Linked DNA regions of Homo sapiens: region 1 is linked to region 2. Evidence: promoter capture Hi-C in 16 types of primary human blood cells and fetal thymus (Javierre and others, 2016). All regions are on one chromosome and are shown on one strand. Each heading gives the region's core, a stretch centred on a gene start or on the middle of the fragment in contact. The rest is flanking DNA. Distances are from core to core; before and after follow the strand shown. Region 1 overlaps C12orf56 (chromosome 12 open reading frame 56). Region 2 holds the start of RXYLT1-AS1 (RXYLT1 antisense RNA 1).

Region 1 (7,065 bases), core at 4,297-6,796, 550 kb before region 2:
TCTATCATATAGCTTATCTCTTAGAGAAGGAGTTGATATTTCCTTATATCCAAGTGTTGAGGGATCCCAGAAATTGACAGGTTATCACACTGGCCGTTACTCAGGCAGTGGGTGGCAGAGCCTGGATAAAATCTTATAGGTCTCATGATGCTCATGTTTAGCTCTCTACACGCTTCTTTGTGCATATTGTGAGATGATCCCTGTGTTGTTTAGCTGCATTGTGCGTTTTTTTTTGTTTGTTTTGTTTTTTTTTTTTTTTTTTTTTTTTTTTTTTGCGACGGAGTCTTGCTCTGTCGCCCAGGCTGGAGTGCAGTGGCACGATCTCGGCTCACTGCAAGCTCCGCCTCCCGGGTTCACGCCATTCTCCTGCCTCAGCCTCCGGAGTAGCTGGGACTACAGGCGTCCGTCCGCCATCACGCCCGGAGACTTTTTTTTTTTTTTTTTTTTTTTTGTATTTTTAGTGGAGACGGGGTTTCACCGTGTTAGCCAGGATGGTCTGGATCTCCTGACCTTGTGATCCGCCCACCTCGGCCTCCCAAAGTGTTGGGATTACAGGCGTGAGCCACTGCGCCCGGCTTATATCGTGCGTTTTGACAGGTATTAAGAGTTACGTAAGCTGAGGCCATATTATAGATGCTTCTTTTCTTTTCCAGCTTTCTTCTTTATTTTGACTACTTTATAGCATTTTAAGGCTCTCACTGTGGGAGACAGCAGGAAGTGGTAAACTCACATCAGTCAATTTGTCTTTTTCTAAATTATTTGTTTGAATAGAATAGTATGAAAATTGCATTCAGGCTGGGCGCGGTGGCTCACACCTGTAATCCCAGCACTTTGGGAGGCCGAGGTGGGCGGATCACAAGGTCAGGAGATTGAGACCATCCTGGATAACACCGTGAAATCCCGTCTCTACTAAAAAAATACAAAAAAATAGCCGGGCATGGTGGCGGGCACCTGTGGTCCCAGCTACGCAGGAGGCTGAGGCAGGAGAATGGCGTGAACCCGAGAGGCGGAGCTTGCAGTGAGCAGAGATGCGCCACTGCACTCCAGCCTGGGAGACAGAGCGAGACTCCGTCTCAAAAAAAAAAAAAAATGAAATTGCATTCAAGTCTTAAGAAGCTTCATGAAGGCAGGCATCTTGTCAATTTGATTCACTACTATATTCCCAGTGATTGTAAGGACAGTGTATTGGTCAGATTAAGCTGCACTAACAAATAGCCCCAAAGTCTCAATGCTTCAACACAACAGAGGTTTAGGTCTGATTCAGGATTCAAGCTACTTATTTATCACAGATTAGCAAGGGGTTCTGTTCACTTTTTTTTTTTTTTTTGAGACAGGGTTTCATTCCTGTCACCCAGGCTGGAGTGCAGTGGCATAATCTTGGCTTACTGCAACCTCTGCCTCCTGGGTTCAAGTGATTCTCCTGCCTCAGCCTCCTGAGTAGCTGGGACTACAGGCACGCACCACCACACCCGGCTAATGTTTGTATTTTTAACTGAGACGGGATTTCACTATGGTGGCCAGACTGGTCTCAAACTCCTGGCCTCAAGTGATCCACCTGCCTCAGCCTCCCAAAGTGCTGGGATTACAGGCGTGAGCCACCATGCCCAGCCAGGTTCTGTTCATTTTTAAAAGTCCCAATATATGGGCTGGGTGTGGTGGCCCACGCCTGTAATCACAGCAATTTGGGAGGCCAAGGTGGGCAGATCATTTGAGGCCAGGAGTTTGAGACTAGCCTGGCCAACATGGTGAAACCCTGTCTCTACTAAAAGATACAAAAATTAGCTGGGTGTCTTGGCACATGCCTGTAGTCCCAGTTACTTGGGAGGCTGAGGCATGAGAATCTCTTGAACCTGGGAGGCAGAGGTTGCAGTGAGCTGAGATTGTGCCACTGTACTCCAGCTTGGGAGACAGTAGGACTCCATCTCAAAAAAAAAAAAAGTCCCAAGATATGGGATACTTAGTCACACATCTTAGTATAAGAGGTTTCATCTCATCCATCTCAGCACATGTTTGCTTATTCACCATGACAGGGAGAAATTAACTTAGTAAATTTATGTACCGGTTTTTAAGCTTCTACCTAGAACTGATACATGCCACTTTTCACATTTTATTAGCCAGAGTCAGGCACATTGCCATGCCTAACTTAAAAGGGGACAGGAAAATGTGATCCAACCATGTGTGCATTCCACATGTCTGGAAGAAAGGAAAACAGTAATATTTGTGAGCAGTACTTAATGACCATCTCAAATAGTTGACATTTATTGAGTGCTTACTGTATGCCAGTTAGATGCTGTTCTAAGTGCTTAGCTTGGAACTTCATCCTCATAACAACTCAGATAATATTCTTAGCTCAGTTTTACAGACAAGAAACCTGAATTACAGAGAATTTAAGCAATTTGCCCAAGGTTGTCCATTAAGTGGCAGAACCAGAATTTGAATTTAGATCATCTGGCTCCAGAGTCAGTGCTCTAATCTCTAGGCTACAGCTCCTTTGGTACCTAGTAGATCATAAAAAAAAATTTTTTTTGGTTGCCTGAATTCCCGCAAGACTTTAAGCCTTTTGAAAACAGAAACCCATCTTACATTTTGTATGTTTCAGTTTTGGCCTTTGTAGTAAGAGCTCAAAAATACTTATGGTGAATTGAACTGAACAAATCAGAAACTAGATAATCAACTGCTGAAAGCTTAGGGGTCTTTTTTTCTCTGAAATTAAAAGCTGATAAAAGAAATATGAATCAAGGCTATGAAAGCAAGAATAACGGATAAGATAAATATAGATTTATTCACAAAATATGGGAAACCAAGAAATAAGAGGTACTCCTTTGCATTTTGAAAGTAACATTTTAAAATTTACAAAGAAATCACAAACATATTAAAAAGTGGGCCAAGAGGCCAGGTGCAGTGGCTCACGCCTGTAATCCTAGCACTTTGAGAGACTGAGGTGGGCAGATCACTTGAGGTCAGGAGTTCCAGACCAGCCTGGCCAATATGATGAAACCCCGCCTCTACTAAAAATAAAAAAATTAGCTGGGGGTGGTGCACTTGCCTGTAATCCCAGCTCCTCAGGAGGCTGAGGCTGAGAATCGTTTGAATCCAGGAGGTGGAGGTTGCAGTGAGCCGAGATCACACCACTGCACTCCAGCCTGGGCAACATAGCGAGACTCCTCAAAAAAAAAAAAAAAAAAGTGGGCAAAGGACATGAACAGATACTTCTCAAAAGAAGATATACATGTGGCCAACAAATATGTGAAAAAAGTTCAACATCACCAATCACTACAGAATGCAAATCCAAACGAAAGTGAGATACTATCTCACACCAGTTAGAATGGTGATTATTAAAAAGTCAAAAACAACAGATGCTGGTGAGATTGTGGAGAAAAAGGAACCCTTTTACAATGTTGGTGGTAGTGTAAATTAATTGAATCATTGTGGAAGACAGTGTGGCAATTCCTCAAAGACCTAGAGGCAGAACTACCTGGCCGCTGCACTCCAGCCAGGACAACAGAGCAAGACTCCATCTAAAGAAAAAAAAAAGAAAATGTGGTACATATACACCATGGAATACTATGCAAGCATCAAAAGGAATGAGATCATGTCCTTTGCAGAGACATGGATGGAGCTGGAAGCCATTATCCTCAGCAAATTAATGCAGGAACAGAAAACTAAATACCACATGTTCTCACTTATAAGTGGGAGCTAAATGATGAGAACACATGGACACATAGTGGGGAATGACAGACACTGGGGCCTGTCAGAGGGTGGGGGTGGGAGAAGGGAGAAGGGAGAGGATCAGGAAGAATAGCTAGTGGATGCTGGGCTTAACACCTGGGTGATGGAATGATCTGTGCAGCAAGTCACCATGGCACGGATTTATCTATGTATTAGATTGGTACAAAAGTAATTGCTGTTTCGGACCGTGGATTTTAAATCATTATAACTAGGCTCAAACACATCTTTATTCATTAAGATAGTAACCATTACAATCAATACATTTTTGCCAACAAGAAATAAGTTTGTTAATTCCTATAGCTTAAAAATCCATGCTTTGGGGCCCAACGAACTCTTGGAAAGCATTTTCTGCATCCTGCTGGTTGTGGAAGCATTTTCCCTGCCAAAAGTTGTCAAGATGCTTGAAGAAGTGGTAGTCAGTTGGCAAGAGGTCAGGTGAATATGACGGATGAGGCAGAATTTTGTAGCCCAATCTTTCAACTTCTGAAGTGTTGGTTGTGTGATGCGCAGTCGGACATTGTTGTGGAAAAGAATTGGGCCTTTCCTATTGACCAATGTTGGCTGCAGGCGTTGCAGTTTTGGTGCATCTCATCTATTTGCTGAGCATAATTCTCAGATGTAATGGGTTTGCTGGGATTCAGAAAGCTGTAGTAGATCAGACTGGCAGCAGATCACCACACAAGGTGACCATGACCTTTTTTTCAGTGCAGGTTGGCTTTGGGAAATGCTTTGGAGCTTCTTCTCAGTCCCACTACTGAGCTGGTTGTCGCTGATTGTAGTATAAAATCCACTTTTCATCGCACATCACAATCCAATCAGAAAAACTGTTCGTTGTTGCATAAAATAAGAGAAGATGACACTTTAGAACAATATTTTTTAAATTTTCGCTCAACTCATGAGACATGCATTTATCAAGCTTTTTCACATTTCTAATTTGCTTCAGATGCTGAATGACCATAGAATGGTTGATGTTGAGTTCTTCCAAAACTTTTTGTGTAGTTGTAAGAGGATCAGCTTTGATGATTGCTCTTAATTTGTTATTGTCAGCTTCCAATGGCCAGCCTCTATGCTCCTCATCTTCAAGGCTCTGGTCTCCTTTGCAGAACTTCTTGAACCACCACTACACTGTACACTTGTTAGCAGTTCCTGGGTCAAATGCATTGTTGATGTTGCGAGTTGTCTCCACTGCTTTATGACCCATTTTGAACTTGAATAAGAAAATTGCTCAAAAAGACAAAAATAGTTTCCTTTTCCTCTAACCTCATTTCCATACTCTAAAATAAATATAAAATATGGGCTTGGCATGGTGGCTCATGCCTGTAATCCCAGCACTTTGGGAGGCAGAAGCAGGTGAATCACTTGAGGCCAGGAGTTCAAGACCAGCCTGGCCAACATGGTGAAACTGTCTCTACTAAAAATACAAAATTAGCTGGGCATGGTGGCACGGGCCTGTACTGCCAGCTACTCAGGAGGCTGAGGCAGGAGAATTGCTTGAACCTGGGAGGCGGAGGTTGCAGTGAACCATGGTCACACCACTGTACTCCAGAGTGAGACTCCCTCTCAAAAAATAAATAAATAAATAATAAAATAAATATAAAATAAACAGCAAGTAATAAGTCATTAGCAAAAAAAGCAAGAAACATGCATTAAAACAATGTATAACATAACCACATTTATTTAAGAACGTATTCCAATATCAAACAGCAAATTTCAACAATGCAAAAACCGCAATTATGTTTGCACCAACCTAATAGCAAACCTGCACATTCTGCACATGTACCCCTGAACTTAAAAGTTGAAAATAAAGACTGGGGATGGTGGCTCACACCTGTAATCCCAGCACTTTGGGAAGCCAAGGTAGGCAGATCACCTGAGGTCAGGAGTTTGAGACTAGTCTGGCCAACATGGTGAAATCCTGTCTCTAATAAAAATTTAAAAATTAGCCGGGCATGGTGGTGGGCACCTGTAATCCCAGCTACTCAGGAGGCTGAGGCAGGAGAATCACTGGAACCTGGGAGGCGGAGTTTGCAGTGAGCCGAGATCTCGCCACTGCACTCCAGCCTAGGTGACAGCGAGACTCCATCTCGGAAAAAAAAAGAAAAAAAAAAGTTGGAAAAAAAAGTAATGTTTTGATAAAAGTAAGATAAATTAATATCAGTTGCAAATATAAATATGGTGAAAAATGATGTAGATACATTTGTGAGTGATATATTATTCTTAGAGACCCCATGACTCTCCATTCAAGATTGTCATCCTTCAAAGCCCAGACTGGTGTCTTTGCTGTTGTTGATGAGGTTCAAGGACCAGTTTAGCTGAAAAGGCCCAGGTGGGATGTAGCATCCTTTTCCTAGGGCCAGGATTTGAAAGATTTTTACTTTTAGTCTTTCTTGGCTGTGTATCCAGACCCCGAGGCAATGATTTTTCAAGCCTAACACTGAAATAATTTTCAATATTATGATGAGGCACTGCCTAATTCTCAAAACTGGTAATTCTTTTGGGAATTTGTAGATGGATCATTCATGCCAGCAATATTCATAGATTCTAAAAATAGCTCATCTACCCAGACTTCCTTAGGGATTGGTACACTAAAGCCCAGGTAGAATATAATGGAAAAAAAGACCACCTGGTGGAGATGGCAATGAGGTTTTTAATTATGAAAATGAGAGGGTTTGCCAAGTTCCAAATGGAAAAATAGTTTCTACTTAAGACTAAGCTTATGTACAATGTGAAGGTAATTGCTAATGTGGTTTAATTTGGGGAAAAGCTACTCAGAATGTTTTCATATATTGGCCACTGTGTTAGTAGATTTTCATGAGAGAACATGAACGAGAAGATTAAAAAAACATATAAATAAATTTTAACCCCCTAAAAAAAATTATCGGTAGATTCAATCCTTTGGGTTTACCATTGGTCCTCTTTTAGATTCTTTGAAATACTCTCAGATCAGGTGACTCATTAAATTACAACAAATAATTTGTTACTTGCTTTCCTTCCTTTAGTGGAGACTGGAGAGTTAGAGTTTGCTGTGCAGAGAAGTTGGGTCCTGAAAGGACCATGGAAGCTGAAAGATGTCTCACAATTTAGCACTTGCTGGGTCTTACACTGATTTCAAAACTGTGGCCCAGTTGATCTCCAAATTTTTCTCTACATTGTGCACTTCCATTACATGGATATCAGGTTTTGTTTTCTTTATTTTTTTTCAAGACAGGTCTTGCACTGTTGCCCACGCTAGGGTGCAGTGGTGCAATCTCAGCTCACTGCAACCTCTGCCTTCTGGACTCAAGCAATCCTCCCACCTCAGCCTGTGCAAGGACTACAAGTACATGCCACCACACC
Region 2 (6,443 bases), core at 2,048-4,547:
CCTCAAATGAATCACCCGTCTTGGCCTCCCAAAGAGCTGGGATTACAGGCATGAGCCACTACGCCCAGCCATATTATTATTATTTTTGAGACAGGCTCTGTTTCAAAAGGCTGGAGTGTGGTGGTGCAATCACAGCTCACTGCAGCCTTAACCTCCTGGGCTCAAGTGATCCTCCCACCTCAGCCTCCTGAGTAGCTGGGACTGCAGCTGTGCGCCACCATGCCCAGATAATTTTTGTAATTTTGTAGAGATGGGGTTTCTCCATGTTATCCAGGCTGGTCTCAGAACTCCTGGGCTCAAGTGATCTGCCCGCTTTGACCTCCCAAGGTGTTGTGATTACAGGTGTGAGCCACCACGCTCGGCACCAACTTTATTATACCAGCCTACATTTTATTCCTTTCCTTTCTATTCTTCCCTCCCTCCCTTCCTACCTTTCCTCCTTTCTCCCCTACTTTTTGTGATCTTTTATAACTGCTGAAATGATCACATGTATTCCTTGCTACAGTGCAAGGTATATTGGGATAACAAAATATATGCGGAAGATAATAGACATATATAAGTCAAAGGGTCCCTCTATTACTTTTATTATTCATTAAGTTGAGCCAAGATTTTGTTGGCTTTACAATTAATTGGGAGATACAAGCATATGATGCAAAACCCATGCAGTATTAAAATGTATACAGTGAGGGAAAAGAGTCTGTTTTACACATCAGCTTCCCGCCTAAGGGACAATCTCTGTTGCCTGTTCCTTAATATATGTATTTTAAAAGCGATATCCTCTGCACATGGTTAACAAAATGGAGTGGAATTTCAGGGTGATATTATGTTCCTCATTTAATGGAGAGAAAAAAGCATATGCCCTCAAATACCCTTCTGCCTCTTCTCCCCTCCCCTCCCCGTCCCCCACCCCCTTCCTTCCTTCTTTTTTGAGATGGGGTCTTGCTCCGTCACCCAGGCTGGAACACAATGATGCGATCTCAGCTCACTGTAACCTCTGCCTCCCGGGTTCAAGAAATTCTCCTGCCTCAGTCTCCTGAGTAGCTGGGATTACAGGCGCGTGCCACTATGCCCGGCTAATTTTTGTATTTTATTATTATTATTTTTTTCACCATTTAAGGAATTGTTATTAAAGCAATAATTTTATAATCCAAATTACGTTTCCTAGCTCAGTTATCAATTCTGTTACTTAAAACAGAACTGACATTTTGAACTATTCCACAGTAAAGAATTACAAAATTAAAGAAAGGAATGCTTTAAATTTTTGCACTTTGCTGAAAATTTTTTCCCAGAGTCTATAAAACATTAATTGGTTTTCATATTTTACTATTTTTGTGTTTTTTTAAAATTTTTAAATCAATAAGTAATCTAGGACTAGCATTATGTTTGCTAGACCTGGCATTTTCTCGGTACATAAGGTTCAAAGTTTCTTTTCCTTTTTAAATTTATTTTATATTTTGCAATGTTTATTAAAAAAATAATATTTACATTTTTCGATGTTTAGATATTTTTCTTCTGTGAAGCACAAGTTTCTTTTCATGGTACCTGATCAATTTTAAACAGTTGGAACACCGGTGGCACGGTTAACTGCTTTCTGGGCAGCCACTTCAGCTTGGTGGGCTTGTAGTACAGCTACAGTTTCATTAACCTTAGAACGGAGTGACTCTGGAGACTCCAGCATATGAAGAAGTTCTGAATTACCAATCTCCAACAACATGCCAGTGATTTTACCAGCAAGAGTAAGGTGCATGGCTTGAATAAGAGGAAACAGCCGTTCACCCAACATTTGCTTTTGCTCTTGAGCATGGGCAGATACCAACATGGAAGCAGTCAAAGGTTCCTGACCTTGTACATGAGCAGCAGGCTGTTGCATTGTAACTTGTGGCTGTGCATTAAGATGTTTCTGAGGACTGCGAACTCCCGCAGCATAGTTATAATGTGGAGTGGCAGCAGCAGCAGCTGCAGGACGTGGACCCATTGTCTGTGTCGATGTGTTAGCAACACGCTGTGTTGACATAACTCATGGAACCTGTGAAGAAGCTGGTCTCATAGTACTAAATGGTGGTCTAGGAGCAGCCGGGCGGATAGCACTGGGCCTATTTTGGAATGGATGGGGTCTGGCACCCTCAGCAGTCCAGCGAGGACTTGGTCTTAGTTGAGCAATTTGGCTAGGAGGATAGTATGCAGCACCGTTCTGAGTCTGTGGGATAGCTGCCATGAAGTAACCTGAAGGAGGTGCTGGCTGGTAGGGGTTGATTTCAAGATTGGGCACAGCTCGTACACTTGCCATTCTTTGCATATACTGGTTAGTGAGGTGAGCCTGGCACTCTTCTTTGCGCTGAGCTAAAGCAACATACAATGGCTTTGTGGCCACAATTCTACCATTCATTTCTGTAACTGCTTTAGTGGCTTCTTCTGGTGAGGAGAAACATACAAAACCAAACCCTTTGCAGCGACCACCCTCCATCATAACCTTTGCACTGGTGATTGTACCAAATGGAGAAAACTCTTTCCGGAGACGTTAATTATTAATGCCATCATCAAGATTTTTCACATAAAGATTAACACGGTGGTATCTGGTGATCCTATCTTGCCTCACCTGTTCAAATTTGCGCTTAAGTTCTGTCTGCCGTTCCACTTTTTTCTGAGCTCTACCTACATAAATTTGTTTTCCATTGAGCTCCTTTCATTTCATCCACAGCTTTCTGTGCATCTTCAAGCCTTTCAAAGCTTACAAATCCAAATCCTTTAGATTTTCCACTTTCACCAGTCATTACTTTCACATTTAAGGCAGGCCCAAACTTGCCAAAGAGATTCTTAAGGCGCTCATCATCCATGTCTTCTCCGAAATTCTTGATGTAAACATTGGTGAACTCTTTCACGTAGCTCCAAGTTCAGCTTCTCGTTCTTTATGAGACATAAATCGTCCAACAAATACTTTGCGATCATTTAGGAGCATTCCATTCATTTTTTCCATAGCTCTTTCAGCTGCTTCCTGTGTCTCAAAGTGTACAGATCCATAGCCCTTGGAATCATTTTCATCACAGCCCACCTTACATGAAAGGATGTTACCAAAAGCAGAAAAATGTATCATACAGTGCTTTATTATCAATGGATTTGTCCAGATTTTTAATGAATATGTAGCCCACTCCACTTTTGCGAAGTGATGGATCACGCTGAGACTACACGATGCGTACTGGCTTGCCCTTTATAACATCAAAATTCATAGTGTTCACAGCATGCTCCGCGTCCGCGGGCTACTGGAAGTTCACATACGCGTAGCCCAAGGAGCCGTGGGTGATCATGTCCCTGCAGACCCGGATGGAGAGGATGAGCCCGGCCGCGCTGAACTTCTTGTAGAGCATCGCCTCGGTCACGTCGGGATGGAGGTCCCCCACGTACAGCGAGGACGTAGCTGGGGGCACTGGGGTTCATCTCGGCACTGCTGCTCGCAGGGCCACAGGCCGCGACCTTTCCGTGAGAGGAGGAGAGCGAATGCTGGGGCTAGGGGCCGGAGCTGGGGGAAGGTGAGCGGGGGCAAGCGCAAGCGCAAGCGCAGAGGGACAAAAATCACCCGGAATCGAAAACTACTTCACCGCCCCAGAATGGTGTTGATCCGCTGCCGCTGGCTGCGGGCGAAGGTGGAGGTGTCAGTCCGGACAGCGGGAAGGCCTCGGTCTCTTGGTTCCTTTTTGGAGCTGCTGCGGGCGGGCGAGTCGGCCTCGGCTGCTTCACGGGGTTACTTTATAAAAGAAGAAGAAGAAAAAAATAAAAGTCTATGGCAGGGGAGAGGCGGATTTTTTGTAAATTGTGGGAAAGTTTTTAAAATATTTTTTTAGATTTTTTTTTAATAATAAATGTATGTTCCGAGCCTGGAGCACACACTCCGCACTCTGAGCACTAACTGCCGGGAGAAGGGGCTAATTTTTGTATTTTCAGTAGAAACGGGGTTTCACCATGTTGGCCAGGCTGGTATGGAACTCCTGACCTCAGGTAATCTGTCCGCCTAGCCCTCCCAAAGTGCTGGGATTACAGGCGTGAGCCACCACGCCCGGCCAGTTTTTCTTTTTTTCTGATGTAGGCACTTGTAGCTATAAAATTCCCTCTTAGTACTGCTTTTGCTGTATCCCATAGGTTTTGGTATGTTGTGTTTCCATTATCATTTGATTCAATAAATATTTCAATTTCCTTTTTAATTACTTCATTGATCCACTGGTCGTTCAGGAGTATATTGTTTAATTTCCATATGTTTGCATAGTTTCCAAAATTCCTCTTGTTATTAATTTCTAGTTTTGTTTCATTGTGGTCAGAGAAAATGCTTGATATTATTTCAGGGTTTTTTTTAGACTGAGTCTCCCTCTGTCACCCGGGCTGGAGTGCAGTGGCGTGATCTCAACTCATTGCAACCTCTGCCTCCTGGGTTCGAGTGACTCCCTTGCCTCAGCCTCCCGAGTAGCGGGGACTACAGGTGTGTTCCACCATGCCTGGCTAGTTTTTGCATTTTTAGTAGAGATGGGGTTTCACTATGTTGGCCAGGCTGGTCTCAAACTCCTGACCTTGTGATCTGCCTGCCTCGGCCTCCCAAAGTGTTGGGTTACAGGCATGAGCCACTGCACCCGGCCCAGTTTTTTTTTTTTTTTTTTTAATGTTTTAAGACTTATTTTGTGACCTAATAGATGGTCTATTCTTGAGAATAATCTATGTGCTGAGGAAAATAATGTGTGTTCTGCAGCCATTGGATGAAATGTTCCATAAATATCTATTAGATCCGTTTGTTTTATAATGCAGATTAGGTCCAATTCATTAATTTTCTATCTGGAAGATCTGTCCAGTGCTGAAAGTGGGGTGTTGAAGTCTTCAGGTAGTATCATATTGGGAACTATCTCTCTCTTTAGCTCTAATAATATTTACTTTATATATCTGAGTGCTCCAGTGTTGGGCACATATACATTTAAAATTGTTATATCCTCTTGCTGAACTGACCCCTTTATCCTTACATAGTGACCTTCTTTGTCTCTTCTTTAGATTTGTCTTGAAATCGATTTTGTCTAAGTATAGCTACTCCTGCTCTTTTTTGGTTTTTATTGGCAGGGAGTATCTTTCTATCCCTTTATTTTCAGTCTATGTGTGTCTTTGTAGGTGAAGTGTCTTTCTTGTAAGCAACAGATCAGTGGGTCTTATTTTTTTATCCATTTAGCTACTCTATGTCTTTTGATTGGAGAGGTTAGTCCATTGAAGAATTTACATTCAATGTTATTATTGATAAGTAAGAACTTACTTTTGCAATTTTGTTAATTGTTTTCTGGCTGTTTTGTGGTCTTCTTTCTTTCTTTTCTTCCTGTTTTCCCTTAGTAAATATTATTTTCTCTGGTGATATGATTTAGTTCCTTGCTTTTTGTTTTTTGTGTATTCATGGCATGTTTTTTTCATTTGAGATTACCATGCGGCTTGCAAACGCTATCTTATAACCCATTATTTTAAGCTGATAAAAACTTATCACTGTTTGTATAAACAAACAAGCAAAAAGAAACCTAATAAAAAGTTTACACTCTAACTTCATCCCCCCTTTTTAATTTTTTGTTGTTTCTATTTATATCTTATTGTACTGTTCATGTCTTAAAAAGTTGTCATAGTTATTATTTTTGATTGATTCATCATTTAATCTTTCTGCTTATGACAAGAGTAGTTTACATACCACAGTTACAGTGTTATCATAGTCTGTGTTTCTCCATGTACTTATTTATTACCAGTGAGTTTTGTACCTTTTCTTTCAAATTGAAGAACTCTCTTTAGCATTTCTTGTAGGACAGGTCTGGTATTGATGAAATCCCTCAGTTTTTGTTTGTCTGGGAAAGTCTTTATTTATCCTCCATATTTGAAGGATGTTTGGACTGGATATACTATTCTAGGGTAAAAGTATTTTTTTTATTCAGCATTTTAAATATGTCATGCCACTCTCCCTTGGCCTGTAAGATTTTCACTGAAAAGTCTGCTGCCAGATATATTAGAGCTCCATTGTATGTTATTTGTTTCTTTTCTCTTGCTGCTTTTAGGATCCTTTCTTTATCCTTGACCTGTGGGAGTTTGATTATTAAATGCCTTAAGGTAGTTATCTTTGGGTTAAATCACCTTAGTGTTCTGTAATCTTCTTGTACTTGGATATTTATATCTTTCTCTATGTTTGGGAAGTTCTCTGTTATTATCGCTTTGAATAAACTTTCTACCCCTGTCTCTCTACCTCCTTTTTAAGGCCAATAACTCTTAGATTTTCCCTTTTGAGGCTATTTTCTAGATCCTTTAGGGATGCTTCATTGTTTTTTATTATTTTTTTCTTTTGTCTCTTCTGACTGTGTATTTTCAAATAGCTGTTCTCATGCTCACTAATTCTTTCTTCTGCGTGATTCATTCTGCTATTAAAGGCCTCTAATGTATTCTTCAGTATGCCA

What was found. Contacts are between HindIII fragments. The CHiCAGO score rates a contact against its expected background, and 5 or more counts as called.
Region 1: a fragment that was not itself captured here is called in contact with the fragment with the promoter of RXYLT1-AS1 in region 2 in 1 of 17 cell types (M0 macrophages); the score reaches 5.0 in M0 macrophages.

Annotation. Positions count from the first base shown.
Region 1 is chr12:64,373,314-64,380,378 of GRCh38, reverse strand. The region is part of intron 1 of C12orf56 (chromosome 12 open reading frame 56); the gene reads left to right. Among named protein-coding and RNA genes, the nearest start is that of C12orf56, 14 kb to the left of the region's middle. The HindIII fragment of the contact is 1,797 bases long and covers 4,648-6,444 here.
Region 2 is chr12:63,819,010-63,825,452 of GRCh38, reverse strand. It overlaps RXYLT1-AS1 (RXYLT1 antisense RNA 1), which reads left to right and starts at 3,297. Exons shown (of 4, transcript NR_126167.1): 1 at 3,297-3,524. MIR10527 (microRNA 10527) reads right to left here and starts at 1,790; the gene lies at 1,726-1,790. It also overlaps the pseudogene PABPC1P4. The HindIII fragment of the contact is 5,765 bases long and covers 2,730-6,443 here.